Regions from separate parts of the Homo sapiens genome. Here regions 1, 2, 4, 5, 6 and 7 are each linked to region 3. The links are contacts of gene promoters, found by promoter capture Hi-C in blood cells and fetal thymus (Javierre and others, 2016). All regions are on one chromosome and are shown on one strand. The core of a region is centred on a gene start or on the middle of the fragment in contact, and the rest is flanking DNA. Distances in the headings are between cores, read along the strand shown. Region 1 overlaps ZNF443 (zinc finger protein 443). Region 2 holds the start of CNN1 (calponin 1). Region 3 holds the start of ZNF433 (zinc finger protein 433). Region 4 has its middle 31 kb from the start of ZNF709. Region 5 overlaps ZNF627 (zinc finger protein 627). Region 6 has its middle 53 kb from the start of ZNF627. Region 7 overlaps ZNF709 (zinc finger protein 709).

The links. The method cuts DNA at HindIII sites, captures the fragments that hold promoters and counts their contacts. A CHiCAGO score of 5 or more calls a contact.
Region 1: a contact is called between a fragment that was not itself captured here and the fragment with the promoter of ZNF433 in region 3, in 2 of 17 cell types (erythroblasts and M1 macrophages). The highest score is 8.3, in erythroblasts.
Region 2: the fragment with the promoter of CNN1 here is called in contact with the fragment with the promoter of ZNF433 in region 3 in 6 of 17 cell types (M0 macrophages, total CD4 T cells, neutrophils and 3 more); the score reaches 6.6 in M0 macrophages.
Region 4: a fragment that was not itself captured here is called in contact with the fragment with the promoter of ZNF433 in region 3 in 6 of 17 cell types (total CD4 T cells, fetal thymus, M1 macrophages and 3 more); the score reaches 7.8 in total CD4 T cells.
Region 5: a contact is called between a fragment that was not itself captured here and the fragment with the promoter of ZNF433 in region 3, in 1 of 17 cell types (erythroblasts). The highest score is 5.1, in erythroblasts.
Region 6: a contact is called between a fragment that was not itself captured here and the fragment with the promoter of ZNF433 in region 3, in 1 of 17 cell types (erythroblasts). The highest score is 6.6, in erythroblasts.
Region 7: a contact is called between a fragment that was not itself captured here and the fragment with the promoter of ZNF433 in region 3, in 9 of 17 cell types (naive CD4 T cells, M0 macrophages, monocytes and 6 more). The highest score is 6.1, in naive CD4 T cells.

What each region holds. Positions count from the first base shown.
Region 1 is chr19:12,427,612-12,430,499 of GRCh38, reverse strand. ZNF443 (zinc finger protein 443) reads left to right here. Exons shown (of 4, transcript NM_005815.5): 4 at 1-794. The coding sequence ends at 344. Among named protein-coding and RNA genes, the nearest start is that of ZNF443, 12 kb to the left of the region's middle. The HindIII fragment of the contact is 194 bases long and covers 1,234-1,427 here.
Region 2 is chr19:11,536,997-11,540,119 of GRCh38, reverse strand. CNN1 (calponin 1) reads right to left here and starts at 1,269. Exons shown (of 7, transcript NM_001299.6): 1 at 1,130-1,269. The coding sequence starts at 1,192. RefSeq lists a silencer at 244-293 and an enhancer at 1,353-2,298. The HindIII fragment of the contact is 23,519 bases long and covers 1-3,123 here.
Region 3 is chr19:12,034,396-12,037,184 of GRCh38, reverse strand. It overlaps ZNF433 (zinc finger protein 433), which reads left to right and starts at 1,506. Exons shown (of 4, transcript NM_001308348.2): 1 at 1,506-1,648. The coding sequence starts at 1,646. It overlaps ZNF433-AS1 (ZNF433 and ZNF878 antisense RNA 1), which reads right to left. Exons shown (of 3, transcript NR_134929.1): 2 at 1,413-1,631. RefSeq lists silencers at 1,392-1,551, 1,792-1,841, 1,852-1,971. The HindIII fragment of the contact is 7,472 bases long and covers 1-2,460 here.
Region 4 is chr19:12,514,314-12,517,088 of GRCh38, reverse strand. No RefSeq gene overlaps it. Among named protein-coding and RNA genes, the nearest start is that of ZNF709, 31 kb to the right of the region's middle. The HindIII fragment of the contact is 8,614 bases long and covers 1-2,775 here.
Region 5 is chr19:11,619,130-11,621,879 of GRCh38, reverse strand. It overlaps ZNF627 (zinc finger protein 627), which reads right to left. Exons shown (of 4, transcript NM_145295.4): 4 at 2,719-2,750. It also overlaps the pseudogene VN2R12P. Among named protein-coding and RNA genes, the nearest start is that of ZNF627, 23 kb to the right of the region's middle. The HindIII fragment of the contact is 6,209 bases long and covers 1-2,750 here.
Region 6 is chr19:11,649,303-11,652,309 of GRCh38, reverse strand. It overlaps the pseudogene ZNF887P. Among named protein-coding and RNA genes, the nearest start is that of ZNF627, 53 kb to the right of the region's middle. The HindIII fragment of the contact is 2,859 bases long and covers 1-2,679 here.
Region 7 is chr19:12,475,942-12,478,668 of GRCh38, reverse strand. All of the region lies in intron 1 of ZNF709 (zinc finger protein 709), which reads left to right. Among named protein-coding and RNA genes, the nearest start is that of ZNF709, 7.5 kb to the left of the region's middle. The HindIII fragment of the contact is 6,195 bases long and covers 1-2,727 here.

The sequences.
Region 1 (2,888 bases), core at 81-2,580, 390 kb before region 3:
AGCCGTATGAATGTAAGGAATGTGGGAAAGCATTCTCTTGGCTCACTTGCTTTCTACGACATGAAAGAATTCACATGAGAGAGAAATCCTATGAATGTCCACAATGTGGTAAAGCCTTCACTCATTCCCGTTTTCTTCAAGGACATGAAAAAACTCATACTGGAGAGAACCCGTATGAATGTAAGGAATGTGGGAAAGCATTTGCTTCTCTCAGTTCCTTGCATAGACATAAAAAGACTCACTGGAAAAAAACTCACACTGGAGAGAACCCATATGAATGTAAGGAATGTGGGAAAGCATTTGCTTCTCTCAGTTCCTTGCATAGACATAAAAAGACTCACTAGCATTCTCTCTAAATGTATGGAATGTGGGAAAGCATTTATTAATTTTATTTCATTTCAGATACTTGTACGAAACACATTGGAGATAGACCCTGTGAATGTAAGCACTTGGTAAAGCCTTAAGTAGTTTCAGTTTCTTTCCAGTACAGTCATCCCTTGATACCTGCTGGGTATTGGTTCCAGCACTCCGTGAGCCATGTCCAGTCCCTTTTATAAAATGACATGTTTGTATGTAACTTACCCACATCCTCTTGTATAGTCTCAATTATGTCTAGATTACTTAAAATACCTCATGCATTATAAAAGCTATGCAAATAGTTGTTCTATTGTATTGTTTAGGGAATCATGATAAGGAAAAGAGTCTATGTATTTTCAGTATAGATGCAGTAATTGTGAGCCTATCAACATAGTGTAGTCAGCCAGAACATTAAAGTTTCTTTGTTTCAACTCTCACCTATTTCTTCTGTTTAATGTGTTAACACTTACCAAAACCCTGGGTCTTCTCTCTTGATAACCCAAGTATAGTGATTATAACAATGATGATGATTCTGTGGTGCCCAGTGTTTTGATGTGTTGAGATGACTAGATGTATGGCATTGTGGGTAAGTAGTGAGACATCAGGTTAACTTGAATCTTGACAGGCCATCAGGACTATCATCTATGTTGGAAGAACCAACTTGTGATTATAGATGTGGACTCATTTGAGGAGGCTATGTAATACTAATGTTAGGATCTGTTTGGCTTGAGGGCTGAAGATCTGTAACCATTGAATGTTCCATCTTCTTTGCAGATGCTTAGTTATAGGAAGCTAGTTCTTCTTTTCCTTTGCTTCATTAAAAAAAAAATCTTGTGGTGCTTATAGGCATGTTGTTTCTCAGGTGGATTGAAAGCTTTGTTCCACTGTAGGATCTTTGAGGATCGTACCTCTTTTTCACCTTTGCCTACTGAAAAAACCATTGAATGTTCCGTCTTATTTGCAGATGCTTAGCTATAGGAAGCTAGTTCTTCTTTTCCTTTGCTTCATTAAAAAAAAAAATCTTGTGGTGCTTATAGGCATGTTGTTGTTTCTCAGGTAGATTGAAAGCTTTGTTCCATTATAGGATCTTTGAGGATCGTACCTCTTTTTCACCTTTGCCTACTGAAAAACTGTGGCAAACTTTTCAAGTGTCCAAATCAATGGCTCTGTGTCTTCTAAGTTTTCTAGCTCATCATCATCTGTAGTGGATTTCAGCAGACTTTGAAGTTCCTAGCTGGTAAGGGTTTCTCTTTGCTTTTCGGTGTGTTCCTTAACGTCATCCTCAGTCATTTCAGACAGCGTTCCCCACCAACTTTTTTTGCAACATTTCACATATTCTTAATAACTGCATTAATAGTAGGGAAGTCCTTGAAATCATTGACTCCCTTACCCCATGATGGCTTGTAACATGTATTGGCTGTCCTGGGCTTTAGGGCATCTGTAGCCTTCCCAATAAGCACAATTGTATTTGTAATTGTGAAGCTCTTCAATAAAACCACTGTGGTACATTCAAGGTTAGCATCAAGACTCCATGAATTCACCCAAGGATGTAAGTCACTTGAATGCACTTGATGCCTTGATCTAGTGACGCAGCAGTGATGTAGTTTTAGGAGGCAGAAATATCACTTGCATGTTCTTTTAGGCAAAACAGAGATTGGAGAGATGGCCTGGAGTGTTGTCAATTCTGAGGAAGACCTTGAGTGGCAGTCCCTTCTCTTTGAGGTATTCCATCACATCAGGAGTGAAGCATTGCTAGAAGAAAGCCTTCTTATGTTCTTGCCAGGACACAGGCCAGCAAGTTTTGCTTTTGTCCTAAAGAACCTGGTGATTGCTCAGTAGACGAAGCCTCGCTTGTTCTCATGAACTAATGCATGGCCTGACAGCACCAGAAAAAGGTGGTCTTTCCAGGCCTTGAACCCCAGTACCTGCACTCATGTATGAAGGTACCATTGGGCATCTTCTAGAACATGCCTGATTCATGACAATAGAAGATTTACTCTGGAAGGTAGTGTCTTTTTTCTGTTTTATGAGCTCTTCTAGGAATGCTGTTGTTTCCCTGGCATCAGCCGATGCCAATTCTCCTGTGGTCTTCAAGTTCTTGGGCTGCACTGTGTTGCATAGTTAGCCTAGCCAGAACTTACTGGCTTCAAACTCCTTCCTCTTGCTCTCCTCAGCCCCCTCACAGTGATGCTTACAGAGGCTAAGTGTTTTTTGTTTTCTTTTCTTTCTTTCCTTCTTTTTTTTTTTTCTTTTTTTTGAGACGGAGTGTTGCTCTGTCGCCCAGGCTGGAGTACAGTGGCGTGATCTTGGCTCACTGCAACCCCCACCTCCCGGGTTCAAGTGATTCTCCTGCCTCAGCCTTCTGAGTAGCTGGGATTACATGTGCGCGCCACCACACCCAGCTGTCTTTTGAGTAGAGACTGGGTTTCACCATGTTGGTCAGGCTGATCTCGAACTCCTGACCTTGTGATCCACCCGCCTTGGCCTCCCAAAGTGCTGGGATTACAGGAGTGAGCCACTGCGCTTGGCCT
Region 2 (3,123 bases), core at 20-2,519, 500 kb after region 3:
TCCGCCCAAGCCCAGCCAGGCTCCCAGCCCCTAGGGGACCGGGCTGCCTCTTCTTCTCCCGGGTGAGTGGGGGGAGGTGGGAGGGGCGGCCCCCTCACCTGGCCCTGGCCCTGCCGCCCCCCACGCCACCAGCCCGGCTTTATAAAGCAAACCGGCCCTTATATAGCGTGGCCCGGGCTCCCCGAGGCCGCCTTATAAGGCGCGGCGTCTCTGCGCGGCTCTGCGCGGCTCTGGGGCCGGCGCTGGGGGGGAGGAGGGCGGCGCTGGGATCTGTCTCTCGCCCGAGGACCCGCCCCCCACCAGCCCCCTCCTCCAGCCCCGAGATCCCTCGACCCAGGTTCCAACCCAGTCCCCCACTTCCTCACCATGGGACCCTGGGAAAAGCCACCCTGAGCCTCAGTGTTCCCCTCTGTCAAATGGGGCAGGAACTCCTCCCTCGGCAATACTGTTGGGGCGATTCCAGTGGGCTGGAAACTTAAAGTTCTCCAGCTGGGAGAAGCTGAGCCCATCCTGGTGTATGGGGGGTGAGTCCAGGGTCCGAGCGCTGTACCTGCTTTACCTGGGACCCCAGCTATTTGCCTCTCCTCTCCGAACCTCAGTTTACCCAACCATAGCATGAAGGTGGTGTCCAGGTATCTTCCTAGCTCCACAGTCAGGAGACCCCTGCCGCACTTCTGATGCCCGCTTCCTGCCTTTCACCGTCCCCCTCTGTCTTCAGGATCTCCCACACTTTCACGGCGTCACTTCCCAGGTACCCCAGCACTCAAGCGCTCCCCAATTTCTTTGTCAGGCCGGGGGATATGGAAAAATCAACAAGTCTTCCCCCTATGTTGTTCCCCCCAAGAACACGAAGGGTTAACAGAAGACTGATCAGGTGGGTATCTTTGCAATGGACTGACCCCCTCTGTTTATGTGTGGCTGTGTGCCCCCCCATTCCAGCCCCAACCATAGCTGGGGGCTCCGGGATGTTCAGGGGGAGACAGGCAGCCCCTATCCCATATCACTCCCTTTTCCCCTCTCAGTTTCCAAGTCACATAGGATAGGCAGGAGGGGGTTCAAGGGACCCCAAGCTCAGGGCTCTGGCCTGGCAGGACGTGTGGGCCAGGCCAGGGAGGCCCTCCAGCCCTACCTTGTTCTTAACCTCGGCTGACAGCCCGTAGGCAGGGCCTCGGTTGAAGTGAGCAGAGGACATGCTGGCCGGTGGGCTCTGGCGGGGGCAGTGGCGGCACTGACGCTGAGAACAGAGGCAGCGGCTGAAGTTCCGTCTGCACACTCTTCCCTCCTCACATGTTTTTGAAGCTCCGGAGGCGACCCGGGTCTCTTCCAGGGCCGTTCCATTGGCTGTAGGGGCCTGCCAAGGGGCGGGGCACCTCCCCCCACAACCTCAGCTGCCTTCCCCTCCCCTTGTGATGTCAGGCCCTTGGTATTGGGAGCTGATTGTGTCATTGTTTCCACCTAGGGGGGCAGCCTGCGTTATTCTGGGGGGGCTTGGTCAGACAGAGACCAGCCTTCTTCCACCCACCCCTCCCACTGTCCATTGGGCCTCTGGCTGGGTCTGAGTCTCTTTGTCTCTGAGGTCATCTCTCTTTATCTCTCTGGAGTCTTGAAGCAGGACTGACACCCAAGGTAGTTTAGTGAGCACCATCCCGGGTTTATCTCCAGATACCAACAGTCTATAGCCTTAGGTAAGCCCCTTCTCCTCTCTGGGCCTCTATGGCCACATCTGTAAAATGGGCTAACGATAGTGCCTGCCTCATGGGAGAGTTGTAAAGATCAGAAGAATATGCCTGTTACATGCCCAGCACAGTGCCCGGCACAGCAGAGGGACTCGGGCCATAGCAGTCTTTTTAAGGCAAGGTTTCACTCTGTCCCCTCGGCTGGAGTGCAGTGGCACAATCACAGCTCACTGCAGCCTTGACCTCCCAGGCTCAAGTGATCCTCCCATCTCAGCCCATCCAAGTAGTTAGAATTGCAGACTTGTGCCACCAACCTGGCTAATTTTATTTTATTTTTTTAGAGATGGGGTCTCGCTATGTTGCCCGGGGTCTCGCTATGTTGCCCAGGCTGGTCTCAAATTTCTGGGCTCAAGCAATCTGCCCGCCTTGGCCTCCCAAAACGCTGGGATTTACAGGCATGAGTCACCATGCCCAGCCTATAGCATTCTTTATGCTGAGGGTCCAGCACCCCAGTTCTGTCTCCTCCAGCCCCTCATAAGGACCTGGGGGAGAAGAGATCCTGGGTCTCACCCTCCCCATCCACTTGTGTGTCACCTGAACTACAGGGTGACTTTGTTGGCAAGTCCCAGGCCGTGAACTGTGTCCCTGTCAAACAGCCCTACCCAGCCAGATCTCACCCCTGGACCACAGGGGTGGATGCTATGCCCACATCATGCCCCACATGGCAAGGCCATGTTTGTGACACTTGGATGACATGTCTGCAACCTGCCACACACTAATGATATGTTGAGGATATGCAGTTTATCGGTCACATGCTAATGGCATGGCTGCAATATGCCACAGACTACAGCCCTTATGTCAGGCCATGTTCCAACTCTGTACATATATCCATTCAATTCTCATGACGCCCTCAGAGATGGACACTGTTATTATTATTATTATTATTATTATTATTATTATTTGGAGACAGAGTCTCTATTCCCCAGGCTGGAGTGCAGTGATGCTATCTCGGCTCACTGCAACCTCCACCTCCTGGGTTCAAGCGATTCTCCTGCCTCAGCCTCCCAAGTAGCTGGGATGACAGGTGTCTGCCACCACGACTGGCTATTTTTTGTATTTTTAGTAGAGACGGGGTTTTGCCATGTTAGCCAGGCTGGTCTCGAACTCCTGACCTCAGTTGATCTGCCCACCTCGGCCTTGCAAAGTGCTGGGATTACAGGCGTGAGCCACCGTGCCCAGCTGACACTGTTATTATTAATACAAGTACTTTGCTTTACAGGTGGGGAAACTGAGGCACGGGGGCTTGGAATCACTTTTTCAGCGTCACACAGCAGGCCAGGGGCAGAGGAGAATTTGAGACCATGCTCCATGAACCTCAACTATGAGGCTAAGGTGGGGTTTCTCAACCTCCACACTGTTGACAGCTGAGGCTGGATAATTCTTCATG
Region 3 (2,789 bases), core at 257-2,756:
ATTCCCAACCTTCTCACTTGCTCCTGTGGATAATATTATTGTTGTAAGACCTAAGATTGGTGTTTGAGGTATTTTTGAGACCCTTCATTCTGATAAATTTGCTGGCATCACACAGACCAATAAACTGGCTCACCTGCTCCAGTGGCCCCTAGCCAAGAACTGACTCAGTGCAAGAAGACAGCTGAGACTTCCTGTGATATCCTTTTCGCGACCAATCAGCATTCCCCATTTTCCAGCCTTCTGCTCACCAAATTATCTTTAAAACCCTAGCCTCGGCCGGGTGCGGGGGCTCAGGCCTGTAATCCCAGCACTTTGGGAGGCCGAGGCGGGTGGATCATGAGGTCAGGAGTTTGAGACCAGCCTGACCAACATGGTAAACCCCGTCTCTACTAAAAATACAAAAATTAGCCGGGCATGGTGGCGCATGCCTGTAATCCCAGCTACTCAGGAGGTTGAGGCAGGAGAATCGCTTGAACCCGGGAGGCGGAGGTTGCACTGAGCCGAGATTGCGCCACTGCACTCCAGCATGGGCGACAGAGAGATTCCGTCTCAAAAAAAAACCAAAAAAACAAAACCTAGCCTCCCATTTTTTAGGGAGACAGAATTGAATAAAAATAAAACTCTTCTCTTTCATTTAGCCGGCTCTATGTATATTAAACTCCACTGCAATTCCCTGTCTTTTTTTTTTTTTTTTTTTTCGGAGACAGGGTCTCACTCTGACATCCAGGCTGGTAAAATCACAGCTCACTGTGGCCTCGACCTCTCTGGGCTCAGGCGATCCTCTCATTTCAGCCTTCCGAGTAGCTGGGACTGCAAACATGTACCACCACGCCCGACTAATTTTTGTATTTTTTGTAGAGGCGGGGTTTTGCTATGTTACCCAGGCTGGGCTTAAGTTCCTAGGCTCAAGCAATCTGCCTGCCTTGGCTTCCCAAAGTGGTGGGGTTACAGGCATGAGCTACCCCCACCCCCCCAGCCCACCGCCGGACGAGCTAAAGTTTCTATTCAACAGTACTCTATGGCAGGGGTCCCCAACCCCCGGTCCATGGCCTGTAAGGAACCAGTCCGCACAGCAGGAGGTGAGCGGCTGGCGGGCGAGCCAGCGGGCATTATCGCCAGAGATATGCTTCCTGTCAGATCAGCAGAGGCATTAGTCTGTCATAGGAGCCCGAACCCTATTGTGAGCTGCACATGCGAGGGATCTAGGTTGGGTTCGCCTTATGAGGATAAAATGCCTGATCTGAGGTGGAAGTTTCATTCCGAAACTATCTGCCCCCGTAGGAGAACTGTCTTCCACGAAACCGGTTCTGGTGCTAAAAAGGTTACAGACCTCTGGCTTAAAGAATCTATCGCTGGATCCGGTCAAACCCGTTTTCAGAGCCCCGTTACCAAGGGCTTCTATTGTCACTCACGGCTGAGGGGGCGGGGCCCGGCGCTTCGTCCAATCAGGGGCGCTGGGCGGGGCCTGCCGAGTGTCCATCGGGGAGGGCGAAGGCCCTGCTCTCCTCGGTTCCCGGCTCCAGGCGGCGAGCTGAGGTTGGGAGCCTGGCTTTCCCCTCCGAGAGGGTTCAGGTGCCTCTGCCATAGCTTCTGTCGCCTGTGCTGTGACCCGCACTGGTCGTGGGAGTCACCTGAAAGGCAAGAAATGGTGAGCGTGCGGGCCAGGGGTCCCGAGGCGGGGGAGGAGCTGGTTGGAACCGGCCGGAACCGGCTGTGGTGGGACCCGGGCCTCCCCGCGGCGACTCCGGGGTCTGGGACCCGATTTCCCGTGGGACAGCTCGGCCCTTGGTCCCCTTGGCCCCACAGTGGGGCTGGGCCGGCCGCCGGGACCCGGGCGTCTCGTCCTGTCCCTGCGCGGTGACTGTCACCCAGTTCCCAGAGCCCTCTCTGGGCAGCTCCGCGCCCGCTGCCCCGCGTCTCCCCACATTGTGCGGGGACTACGCGAGGGTCATGGGGGGATCCCGCCTCGGGTGTGGGGGTTTGTGTAGGAGGAGGGTGGGCTGTGGGGTCCCCAGTAGCGCCTTTCTCCTCTTAAAAATTAAACTGAGACACGTTAACAATTATAGTTTTGCTTCTCAGAATAGGTTTTAAAAAATATATTAATAATTAGAGTTCCTTTGAGATTCCTGAATGATAAACACCCAGTCCTGGCTTGTAATTTGTTAACGGAAAATGCCAAGCTGTGTAAAATAACTTAAAGAAGTTTATTCAGAGCCGAATAGGAGAGGCCTCAGCTGAGGAAAACACAACCCCAGGAGGCCTGAAGTAAGTGGTCCCGAGGCGGCTCAAGACTGTTTTTATTCATTTCAGGGAGACAGGAATTGCAGGGAGAATCATGCATCAATGCCTGGAAAGGTGTAAGTTCCTTTGGCAGAAAGGGCGGGACCTGTGGAAGGGGGGTTAGAAGGTGCAGGTGGTTGAGGGATTCTGAAGGTGGCCGTTGGTGGAGAGTGTGAAGCTTTGTCTAAAACTTCGAGGCGGTAGGAAGGATTGCTTAAGTGAAGAGGGTCTGGTATCTGTCATATGATTTCATCCCACCCAAAACAAAAGACCTGTTTCTTTAGATTTTGTGAATTCTAAGATTTGACTTACCTCTTGCCTTGCATGGCCTTAGGTCTTGTTTGTAATTTGGTTTCTTATTGTCACAGAGAGTCTGTGTTTCCAGTTGGCTGATGTCTGTTTTAACATGAAGGTGGGTCAGTGGCTATGTGGAAACTCCTAAAGGAAGCGGGTATAATGAGGCCTGTCCAGGTATAGTGAAGCCTGTCTGATGGTTAATCTGTAGTCAA
Region 4 (2,775 bases), core at 111-2,610, 480 kb before region 3:
AGTTAAACTTGTATTTAAAATGGATGTCAAGGCAACATAAAATTATAAGAATTCACTACAAGTTTTGAGAATCAGTGAAATCCAACCATGGTTCACAGGGTTAATCGCTTTCTTAACAACCTATGAAAGTTAAATCAGCCAGGCACAGTGGCTCACGCCTGTAATCCCAGCACTTAGGGAGGCTGAATCAGAAGAACTGCTTGATTTCAGGAGTTTGAGACCAGCCTGGGCAATATAGTGGGACCTCATCTCTACCAAAAATTTAAATATTAGCCAAACATGTTGGTGCACACCTGTAGTCCCAGCTACTCAAGGGGTTGGGGTGGGAGGATTGCTTGAGCCCAGGAGGTGGAGGTTGCAGTGAGCCAAGATTAAGCCACCGCACCCCAGCATGGGTGACAGACTAAGACCCTGTCTCAAAAACAAACAGAAATGGTAAATCATGTAAATAAAAGCAAACAACATGTTATTTTTATATCTATTAATTGCATATAGTCCTCCAGAAAACCGATTTGAGTCATTTTCCAGAAAGGGAGTCAGTGGAGCTCCTTGTAGTGAGGGCACGTTAATATCTGTATACTCTCCCTGGGGTGTGGATGTTTTAGGGTTGTGCTGAGATCTCCAATGTTTACAGCAGGTTGATGGTCAGCTTAAAATATTCTGTGTTGGCTGGGCGCGGTGGTTCATGCCTGTAATCCCAGCACATTGGGAGGCTGAGGCGGGTGGATCATTTGAGGTCAGGAGTTCGAGACCAGCCTGGCCAACATGGTGAAACCCTGTCTCTACTAAAAATGCAAAAAAATTAGCAAGGTTTGGTGAGGCATGCCTGTAATCTCAGCTACTCTGGAGGCTGACCAGGAGAATCGCTTGACGTGGGAGGTGGAGGTTGCAGTGAGCTGAGATCATGCCACTGCACTCCAGCCTGGGTGACTCCATCTCAAAAAAAAAAGTGAGACTCCATCTCAAAAAAATAAATAAAATAAATTTTCTGTGTCCTCAATGATCAGGTGGTGACACAGGTTTGGGGGAACAGAAGCAAATACAATGAATGAGGTTCCTACTCAAGATATCACAGTCTATCCTGGAAGACAAATGCAAATGATTATATCAGAGGATCTGAGAGAATCACAGGTGTATTCAACCTGAGTCCTCTTTGAAAGGGACAGTTATTTATACAATGCTTAATGTTTAGCTACAGAAATAATTGGGTGGGTCAATGGTGGTGGGGTGGGGTTGAGAGAGATTCAGATGGATAAACTGGACATGAACATCCCCAGCCACAGAGCACCTGGTGACAACCATGTACTGTGAAGGTCAGGTGGCCACTGAAACAGAGAAAAAAGGGAAGAGCTCACATTTGATTAGTTCTTTTCATAAGTGTTAATGTGAAAATAATAGTTCGCTAGCATCTTTGTTTTCTAAAAGGAATGCTTATTTGCCAATTTTAAAATATATTTATTTAAATCTTTTTAGAGACAGAGTCTAACTCTGTTGCCCAGGCTGGAGTGCAGTGGCACAATCTTGGCTCGCTGCAGTGCTGACCTCTTAGGCTCAAGTGATCCTCCTGCCTCAGCCTCCTGAGTAGCTGGGACCATGGATGCGCATCACCATGCACTGCTAAGTTTTTAAATTTTTTTCTAGAGGTGAAAATCTATGCTGCCCAAGCTGGTCTTGAATTCCTGGGCTCAAGCGATCCTCCCACTGCAGCCTCCCAAAGTGCTGGGATTACAGGCACAAGCCATTACTTACGCCCACTCCAGTGTTTTAATCCATATAAAATATTTTAAGATTTTCTTCCTCTGATTTGTATGTAAACACAGGAGGAAACGTAGGACTTTGCTGGTTTCTTTCTCATACAGTACGATAGAGAGTCTTTGTCTCATGTAGCTGATCAGTGCTGGTGAGAAGCAGGTGAAGAACCTGCAGTGGGCAGCAGCGCCTGCAGCCAGTGACTCCAACCTGAGGCCAGTCTGGAGCCTGCAAAGGGAGGGAAATGGAGCTCCTCATGTGGCTTTCTGGGCAGCCTGTTGTCTCCGTAGGTGGCCTCTGGTTGCTCAGAACAGCTACAGGAGTGCAGATTCTGAGAAGCAGAGCCCTGGAAAGCAAAAGATTCATGTGAAGACATGCTTGGGGTGTTCTGTCCTTTCTCAGGCTAACTATTTTCTGGGCAATGTGTTTGTTTTGGCATACATAGGGTCATTGTGGTCCAACTGTAATTTGTATATGTGAAGTAAATCTGGCATGGTCAGGCTCAGATAAAGACTCATTTTGGAGAAAGGATTTATGTAGCTGATAGTTTATGTAGGTTAGAATGTTAAACTGACTCCAGGTAAGAGTCTCCTGCAGGTGTAAATGAAGGTCTTGAAGGAGGCAGCTTTTCCACACTGTGTGGAGGGTACATAAGGGCATGTTGAGCTCCCAGAGTTAAATCCTTAGGTTTCCCTACCTCATCAGGAGGGTCTGATCGACCTGGGCATCCATTTCAGTAGTCAAGAGTCTGACTCCCAAGATTAAGAATATGTTAAACCTGAATGCAGGTGTTCCTTGTGAACTGTGGGTGAAGCCTGCTTGCCTGAGCTAGTTCAAATGTTTGCTTTCCTTTTGATTCCTTTATGGAATAATGCTGCCATATAACTATGCATTTAATAATTTTTCCATGCCTTTATTAATTTTATTCCCACGTTGGCATGGTTTTTGTTGTTGTTGTTTTTTTTTCTGGGCTGAAAATGAGTAGACTAAGAGATAAGGTGAGAAAATGGCTTGGCCATGGCACCA
Region 5 (2,750 bases), core at 250-2,749, 420 kb after region 3:
TATGTTTTCTGTAAAATCAGATGGACCGCCAATCGGACAATGAGAGCTGCTCAGCCTGGCCTTACATTCTTTCAATTAATACATAAACAAAAAGGGGGATATGCAGGGAGCCGAAGGCCCGTGGGACGTGACCAACTCAGCATTCCGCAGGAGTCTATATGGGATCAAACAGCAAACTGTTTATCATGAATGCAGGATGTGGGCAAACTCACTGCCCTGCCACCAAAAGGTTTGCTGAGGGACATCACTCCCTGGCACTGGGCTCCTTGAAGTTATCTACTGAGAAAATTAGTGCCTATTGTCCAAAGGATGCAGTCTCACAAGCCTGGTGTGAACCAAATGGCCAACTGACAATTACCCAACAATCACCCCCCGCTTTTCTCGCTCTTTTGTCTAATAAATACAGAGGGCTGTGTAAAGCTCGGGGCCCTTGTCCACTAGAGGCAAGGTGCCCCCCAACCCCTTCTTCCAAATATACTCTTTTGTCTCTTGTCTTTTATTCCTGTGTTTGCTCCCGTTTGTTCAGTCCAATAGGTCCAAGGCGGGTCAGGCTGGTCTCGGACTCCTGACCTCAGGTGATCTGCCCACCTCAGCCTCCCAAAGTGCTGGGATTAGAGGCGTGAGCCACTGCGCCCAGCCGGCATTGCTTTTCTAATCAGATGAAGAACAGTGTATGCTGTCAACAGAGCATCAGGACTCAAACAGAAAGCCACATCACTGCCTTCCAAAAGTGGTGGCCCTCTGGTTTATGAACACTCTTTGGGCCTGTGCTACAATGTCCTCTCTGGGGTGTTTGTGAAGCATCAAGATACTCCCACAGTCAAGGCCAATAATCAGGCTCAGCTGTGTCCTGTTCATCTCCCTCACCCTGTGCTTCCAGTGTCCCCTACCTTCACTGGTCATCCCCACACAGCACCTGCATCCCAACACAGCACCTGCATCCCGGGCAAAATCACATTTGGAGTCGTGTTGATGGTGGGGTTTCTACTCTGTGGCCCACACTATCACTGTGGGTGTTGCCTTCAAGGGAGAAGGACTCAGTGGTTGGATTCAGTAGCACCTAACTCTGTATTGCCCTCTCTAATCCAAATGACTGTAGAATCTGACAGGCAATGACTCCACCCTTCACTCATGTGAATACATTATCTGGGGCTGAATATGTCATCTCCACATACAGTCATGGTTTGGTTGCTGATTGCTACTCTATCCTGTGATACCTGGGCTTTTGACACTGAGAAGTTTCAACAGGGATTTTCTCAACAAGAGCTTGCTGGACACCTTCAACGAAGTGATTGGATTGTTCCGTGGAAGTGTACAGACAAAAAGCTGACTTTTGCATGTTGCTTTTTACTCTGTAGTGCTGGCATAAGAGGCCTATTGATAAATTAGAAGCAAAAGCATATATGCCAGGAACAGTGGTTCATACCTGTAATCCATTCCAGCACTTTAGGAGGCCGATGCGGCCAGATCACCTGAAGTCAGGAGTTTGAGATCAGCCTGGCCAACATGGTGAAACCCTGTCTGTACTAAAAATACGAAACAAAAATTAGCCGGGTGTGATGGTGGGCACCTGTAATCCCAACTACTCAGGAGGCTGAGGCAGGACAATCACTTGAACCGGGAAGCAGAGGTTGCAGTGAGTTGAGATTGCACCACTGCACTCCAGCCTGGGTGATAAGAGTGAAACTCTTGTCTAAAAAAACAAAAACACAAAAACAAAAACAAAAGCATATTATTGGAGCAAGAAAGGCTTGGTTGGAATATTGATGCTGACTTTGTTCCCTTCCTAGGCTTGCATTCAGAAAATGTGCATAAATATATTAGTCTCATTAGACTCGTAAAGGAGCTTTTTAAAAGTATTATACAGCTTGCTAAGAAGTAAATTTACATATTTTAACTGAGGTACATAATGGAAAACAGTGTCCAGTACATCACAGGAAATACTTCAGTGTTCAGAGAATAAGTAAGGCAAAAACAGGTCCACAAGTCCAGGAGCCAGCCTCCGCTCACTGCAAGGCCAAGTCTTACGCTGTTGGAGAGAAACATGTCAGACACCAGCAATGTGAGACCATGCTCCTAGGTGGCTATGATGAATCAAGACAAAAAAAGGGCATTCTGTAACCATGTCTTTAAAACTGGTGAAAGACAGCATGTTCCAAATCATAAACATGACCCAAATTCCCCTCTTCTCACTAATATGACTGAGTGGTATTTCTCATGAATTACGTTTACCTCCACTCCATTCCTTTTCCCTTCTGGATAAGAACAGTTATGATTACCAAGTTTAGAATTAAGTTTACCTCATCACTGCATCAAATACAGAGAATCATCTTGCTTCCCTGAACATAAATCAATCAACCTGGCCAGGTGCGGTGGCTCATGCCTGTAATCCCAGCACTTTGGGAGGCCGAGGCAGGTGGATCACGAGGTCAGGAGTTTGAGACCAGCCCGACCAACATGGTGAAACCCCGTTCACTACTAAAAGTACAAAAATTAGCCGAGTGTGGTGGTGTGCACCTGAAATCCCAGCTACTCTGGAGGCTGAGGCAGGAGAATTGCTTGAACCTGGGAGGTGGAGGTTGCAGTGAGTTGAGATCGCACCACTGCACTCCAGCCTGGGCAACAGAGCAACACTCTATATCAAAAAAAAAAAAAAAATAGAAATCAACCAACCTATAACAAGCACAAAACCTGTAAGAAATTCTTCTGAGCACCCTCTTACTGATACATCACACAGTCCTTTATGGTTT
Region 6 (3,007 bases), core at 1-2,500, 380 kb after region 3:
TTGCATTCATAGGGCTTCTCTCCAGTGTGGATTCTTTCATGTTTTTTAATGGAACTGGAACAACTAAAGGTTTTCCCACATTGCTTACATTCATATGGTTTCTCCCCGGTGTGCATTCTTTCATGTCTATGAAAGGAGCTGGGAAAACCAAAGGCTTTCCCACATTCATTACATTCATATGGCTTCTGTCCAGTATGAGATCTTTCATGTGTGAGATATAAACTGAGATTATCAAAGGCTTTCCCACAAAACTTACATTTATAAGGTCCATCTCCACTGTGCACTACCCTGTATCTTCGAACGGTTTGGGGAGAATCGAAGGTTTTTTCCCATTCCTTACAATCATAGGGTTTCTCTCCTGTGTGAGGCTTTTCATGTGTTTGGAAGGAGTGGAGGCAGCTGAAGGTTTTTACACACTGCTTACATTTATGTGGCTTCTCTCCATGTTCCTGACACTCATACGGTTTGTGTCCAGTGTCAGCTCTGATGTAGCAATTCAGAGATGAATGATCCACGTTGCCTTCTCCACACACACTGCTTTCACATGGTTTTACCCCAGGAAGAGTGTTCTTGTTCATTATACCATCTGGAATCAGGCTGAAAGTTTCTCCACATTGACCATCTTTACATTCACAGAGTCTCTCTGCCATATGATTTCTATAAAAAATAAGAAGCACATTACAAAGAATTTGTTGATAAATAATTTTATATTAGCAAGCATTTGATTTGCATATTTTACATTATCATGAGAAATGTAGGCTTTATGTTCTGTCTGAAGTGTCTGACAGTGAGTGGACTGAATTCTCTGCAAAGGGGCTCTATTACAGCTATTATCAAAACAGTGATGTTACTAGGCAGTTTCTTTTTTCTTATTCTTTTTTTTTTTTTTTTTTTCCTGAAACAGGGTCTCACTCTGTTGCGCAGGCTGGAATGCAGTGGTATGACCACAGCTCGCTGCAGCCTCCACCTTCCAGGCTCAGACAGTCCTCCCACCTCAGCCTCCCAAGTAGCTGGGCCTACAGGCATGCGCCACCAGGCTTGGCTGATTTTTTTTATTTCTTGTAGAGATGAGTTCTCACTGCATTGCCCAGGCTGGTCTCAAACTCCTGGGCTCAAGCAATCTTCCCATTCAGACTCCCAAAGTACTGGGATTACAAGCATCAACCACCACATCTGGCCACTATGGGGTTTCTTTATTTTTTTATTTTATTTTATTTTTGAGACGGAGTTTCACTCTGTCACTCAGGCTGGAGTGCAGTGGCACCATCTCGGCTCACTGCAAGCTCCACCTCCTGGGTTCACGCCATTCTCCTGCCTCAGCCTCCCAAGCAGCTGGGACTACAGGCGCCCACCACCATGCCTAGCTAATTTTTTTGTATTTTTAGTAGAGATGGGGTTTCACCATGTTAGCCAGGATGGTCTCGATCTCCTGACCTCGTGATCCGCCCTCCTCAGCCTCCCAAAGTGCTGGGATTAAAGGCGTGAGCCACCGCACCCGGCCACTATGGGATTTCTTAATACTGTTTCCAAGGCAACTATTTTGCAAACAATGAATGTGTATGTATTTAAGTATATATTTTTGGAGAAAACATTCTAAAAATTAACAAATTTGAAGCTGGGCTGCTTCACTTTGTTTGCTTGTTCTTTAAATTTCCACTGGGCACAGTGGCTCATGCCTGTAATCCTAGCATTCTGGGAAGCCAAGAAAGGAGGATGGCTTGAGTCCAGGGGTTCAAGGCTGCAGTAAGCTATGATCATGCCACTGCACTCTAGCCTATGTGACAGATTAAGCCTTGTCTCAGATACATGAATACATAAGTAAATAAATATAATTTCCTATCACTCTAACATTATCTCAAGGGACACAGCTTCATGTTATAAGTGCAAATTACCTTGGATTTCTCCTGGAATTTTTGTACTGATCTTCAATGTTCCGGTCTTCCCATTTTATTCCTAAAATGTAGACCCATAAAAGTCATGATAAATGATTACAAAATTATAGAAACATTTTAGATTCTATGTTCATGGGACACTGTGACCATGCCTGACTTATTCACCAAAATATTATTGACCCTTGAACAAAATGGGCTTGCATGGCACAAGTCCACTCATATGCAAACTTTTATCAACCTCTGCTGCCTCTGAGGGAACAAGACCAACCCCTCCTCTTCAGGCTACTCAATGTGAAAACAATGAAAAGGATTCCTTTAGGATGATCCACTTAATCAAGTCAATATGTTTTCACTTCCTTATGATTTTCTTGATAATATTTCTTTTTTCTAGCTTACTTTATTATAAGAATACCATATATAATAGACCAAACAGACCAGGCATGGTGGTTTATACCTATAATCCCAGCACTTAGGGATGAGGTGGGAGGACTGCTTGAGGCTAAGAGTTTGAGACCAGCCTGGGCAACATAGCAAGACCTCCATCTCCACAAAAAATAATTTAAAAATCAGCCCAGCATGGTGGCACTTGCCTACAATCCTAGCTACTCAAGAGTCTGAGGCAGGAGGATTGCTTGACCCCAGGAGTTCTAAGTTGTATTAAGCTATGACCATGCCCCTACACTCCAGCCTGAGTAACAAAGTGAGACACTGTCCTAATATACACTTACACATACACACCAACACACAAAATATGTATTAATTGACTGGTTATGTTACTGATAAAGCTTCCAGTCAACAATAGGCTATTAACATTTAGCTTTTTTTCTTTTTATTTGAGACGAAGTTTCACTCTCGTTGCCCAGACTGGAGTGCAGTGGCATGATCTCAGCTCGCTGCAACCTCCACCTCCCAGGTTGAAGCAGTTCTCCTGTCTCAGCCTCCTGAGTAGCCAGGATTACAGGTGCCTGGCACCATGCTTGGTTAATTTTTTGTATTTTTAGTAGAGATGGGGTTTCACATTGGCCAGGCTGGTCTCAAACTCCTAACCTCAAGGGATCCACCCACCTCGGCCTCCCAAAGTGCTGGGATTACAGGTGTGAGCCCCTGCACCCGGC
Region 7 (2,727 bases), core at 153-2,652, 440 kb before region 3:
CCAAGACCTCAATGATCACAGTAGTGAGTCTTTTCATACCCTTTGGTGTCTGTTCTCCACGCTGTTATTAGTGTCAACATTGGAACGACACAGGAATTGTTACCATGAGCATGGTGTTCAGACATTGACTGTCACCCCATGGGTCTGTCTTCTCTTGCACTGAATTGCTACCTGCTCTGTTGCCTGATGGCCAGCATGCACTTTCAGCTGCTGCTTTCTGGGAAGCTACTACTTTGAGTTGTGCTACTCTGTGCTGCATGTTGAGCCCTGCCAAGTCTGGGTTCTATGTTTAGCCAACTGGAGTTGGCCGTTTTGATAATTCCTTGGCTTTTTTGAAGAGGAATATGAGATTTGATACTCCTTAAAGTGGTCCTGGGTAGTGTTTCTTGGCCTGGACTTATCTGTGTGTTTTAGAGTGAAGCTGTGACTGCTGCTGACCTGGCATACAAGGTGCTCATGGGAAAGACTACCTGCCAGAGCAGTCATTTTTGAAAAAGAGACAAAAGAGAGGGGGAAAGGCAGCTGTTAGATGGTGGGCCGAGTCCACACTCCTAATAGCACAGGGCTCCCAAGGACCCTTAAGTGTTGCTGCTGTTGCTCTATTGCAGCAAGGATGCTGACCCTCAGGATTATAGGGCACACTCATGTTTCCTCTGCAGCATTGCAAAGGGTTCATTCAAAGCCAGCTTAAGGCCCAGGTGCTTAAACTTTATAAAGCAACCATGAGGGACAGGCCCCTAAGCCTGATAATAGTGATTTGTGGCTCTCTGGAGGGAAAAGAACACCCCTCCCCTGTAGAGAGGATTTTGCTGTCAAAATATATCCAGGGACAAAAACAAAAACAAAACAAACATGTTAGGAAGGAAAGGAACAAAAGAAAAAAATGCTGAAAAAGAGGTCCACAATTTGACCCAATTGGAAATTCCAAATAGACTAAAGGAATTTAGACGGCAAAAAAGATAAAAGAGCCTCTATATCATAGGTTCTGTATTAATTTTAACATCTTATGTAATGTATTAATTAACACACTATAGGATTAGCCAATACAAGGGCTCAAATTATGGTTATACCTGGGAGACCCACTAAAATTTAAGCAAGGTATCCCCTGATAATCTTAAGGGAGTTACTGAATATAAAATAGAAGACAAATAAGTATGTCTCATCTTAGCCATCATAACTGTGCCTAAATTCCCCATGTTCATGGCACCCAGTGTCCTAAAATACGCCAGAATGAACAGGTAAACTCTAAACCAGTGAGTCATAAGTGAAATTTAAATTAAATCTTTGGCACTTACAAACTGGCTTGACAGAATGAGACCCTGTGGAACTTACTCCCCAGTTAAATTAGTTATGATGGCTCAATATAAATTGAACAGGGCCTTGAAGGGTTGAAAAGTATTATGTAAAACTTGTTTAGTGAGGAAGTGATTATTCCCCGTGCTTCTCGTTTTAAAAGTACAGTTTGGCCTTTCTTAAACTTGGAGAGAATGAATGGCAACCCACAATGGATTACCATAACCTTAATGCTGTGGTCCCACCCATTAAGCCCCTATACCAATATCCAACATGGAAATTACTGACACCATCCAGCTGATCTCACAGATTTCACCATCTCACAGGCTAATTATATAACTTTACCTAGTTTCCCAAGGGAACCTCAACAGCCTTGCTGTTGCACAGTCTTTGCAGGCAAAATCTGAACTGCATCCACCTTTCTCTAGAACACAGGTATGATATTACATTAATGACAGCCTTGTCTGAGGACATTGTTTTGGCATTCATTCAGGACACATAAATACTGAAAAAAAAAATAGAGCTTACAAAAAGTCCATTGCCCCATATATAAAATAAGAGACCTTTATGTTTTGGTTAAGTTCCTAAAAACCATTTGGTAAAAGGAGGGCCGCTCCATCCCTGACACTACTATGAAATAGCTATTGTCCCTCTGACTACCCACAGCATCTTCTAGGTTCTTTTGATGTTCTGGAGGCAACATATTCCTTGTTTATAAATTTTACTTAACCACTTTATGCTGTTAATTGCAAATTGGCCCACCTTAAGTGGGTCCCCCTACCGCAAAAGGCTCTAGAGTCTTTTTCATTCTCTTAACACAGAGCTTTCATAGAGAAGGAGCTTTTGCATTTTAATGAAGTCAAACTTACTGATTTATTTTGTATGGATTTTGCTTATATCTAAACATTTGTCACCAAACCCAGGGTCACCTAGATTTTCTTCATTAACTTTTAGTATCCTATAACTTTACTTTTTTTTTTTTTTTTGAGGCAAGTTCTCCCTCTTGCCCAGGCCAGAGTGCAGTAGTGCAATCTTGGCTCACTGCAGCCTCAACCTCCTGGGCTCAAGCACTCCTCCCACTTCAGCCTCCTGAGTAGGTGGGACTACAAGCGTGCACCACCACACCTGGCTAATTTTTGTATTTTTTGTAGAGATGGGGTCCTACTTAGTTGCCCAGGCTGGTCTCAAACTCCTGACTTCAAGCTATCCTCCTGCCATGGCCTCCCAGAGTGCTGGGATTACAGGCATGAGCCACTGCTCCTGGCCTAGATTTTACATTTAGTTCTGTGATCCATTTTGAGCCAGTTTTTGTTTAAGGTGTAACGTCTGTTTCTAGATTTGTGTTTTTTTCATTGTGTTTTGCATGTGGATGTTCAGTTTTTCCAACACTGTTTGTTGAAAAAGGCTATCTTTTTTCATTGAATTGCTGTTGGT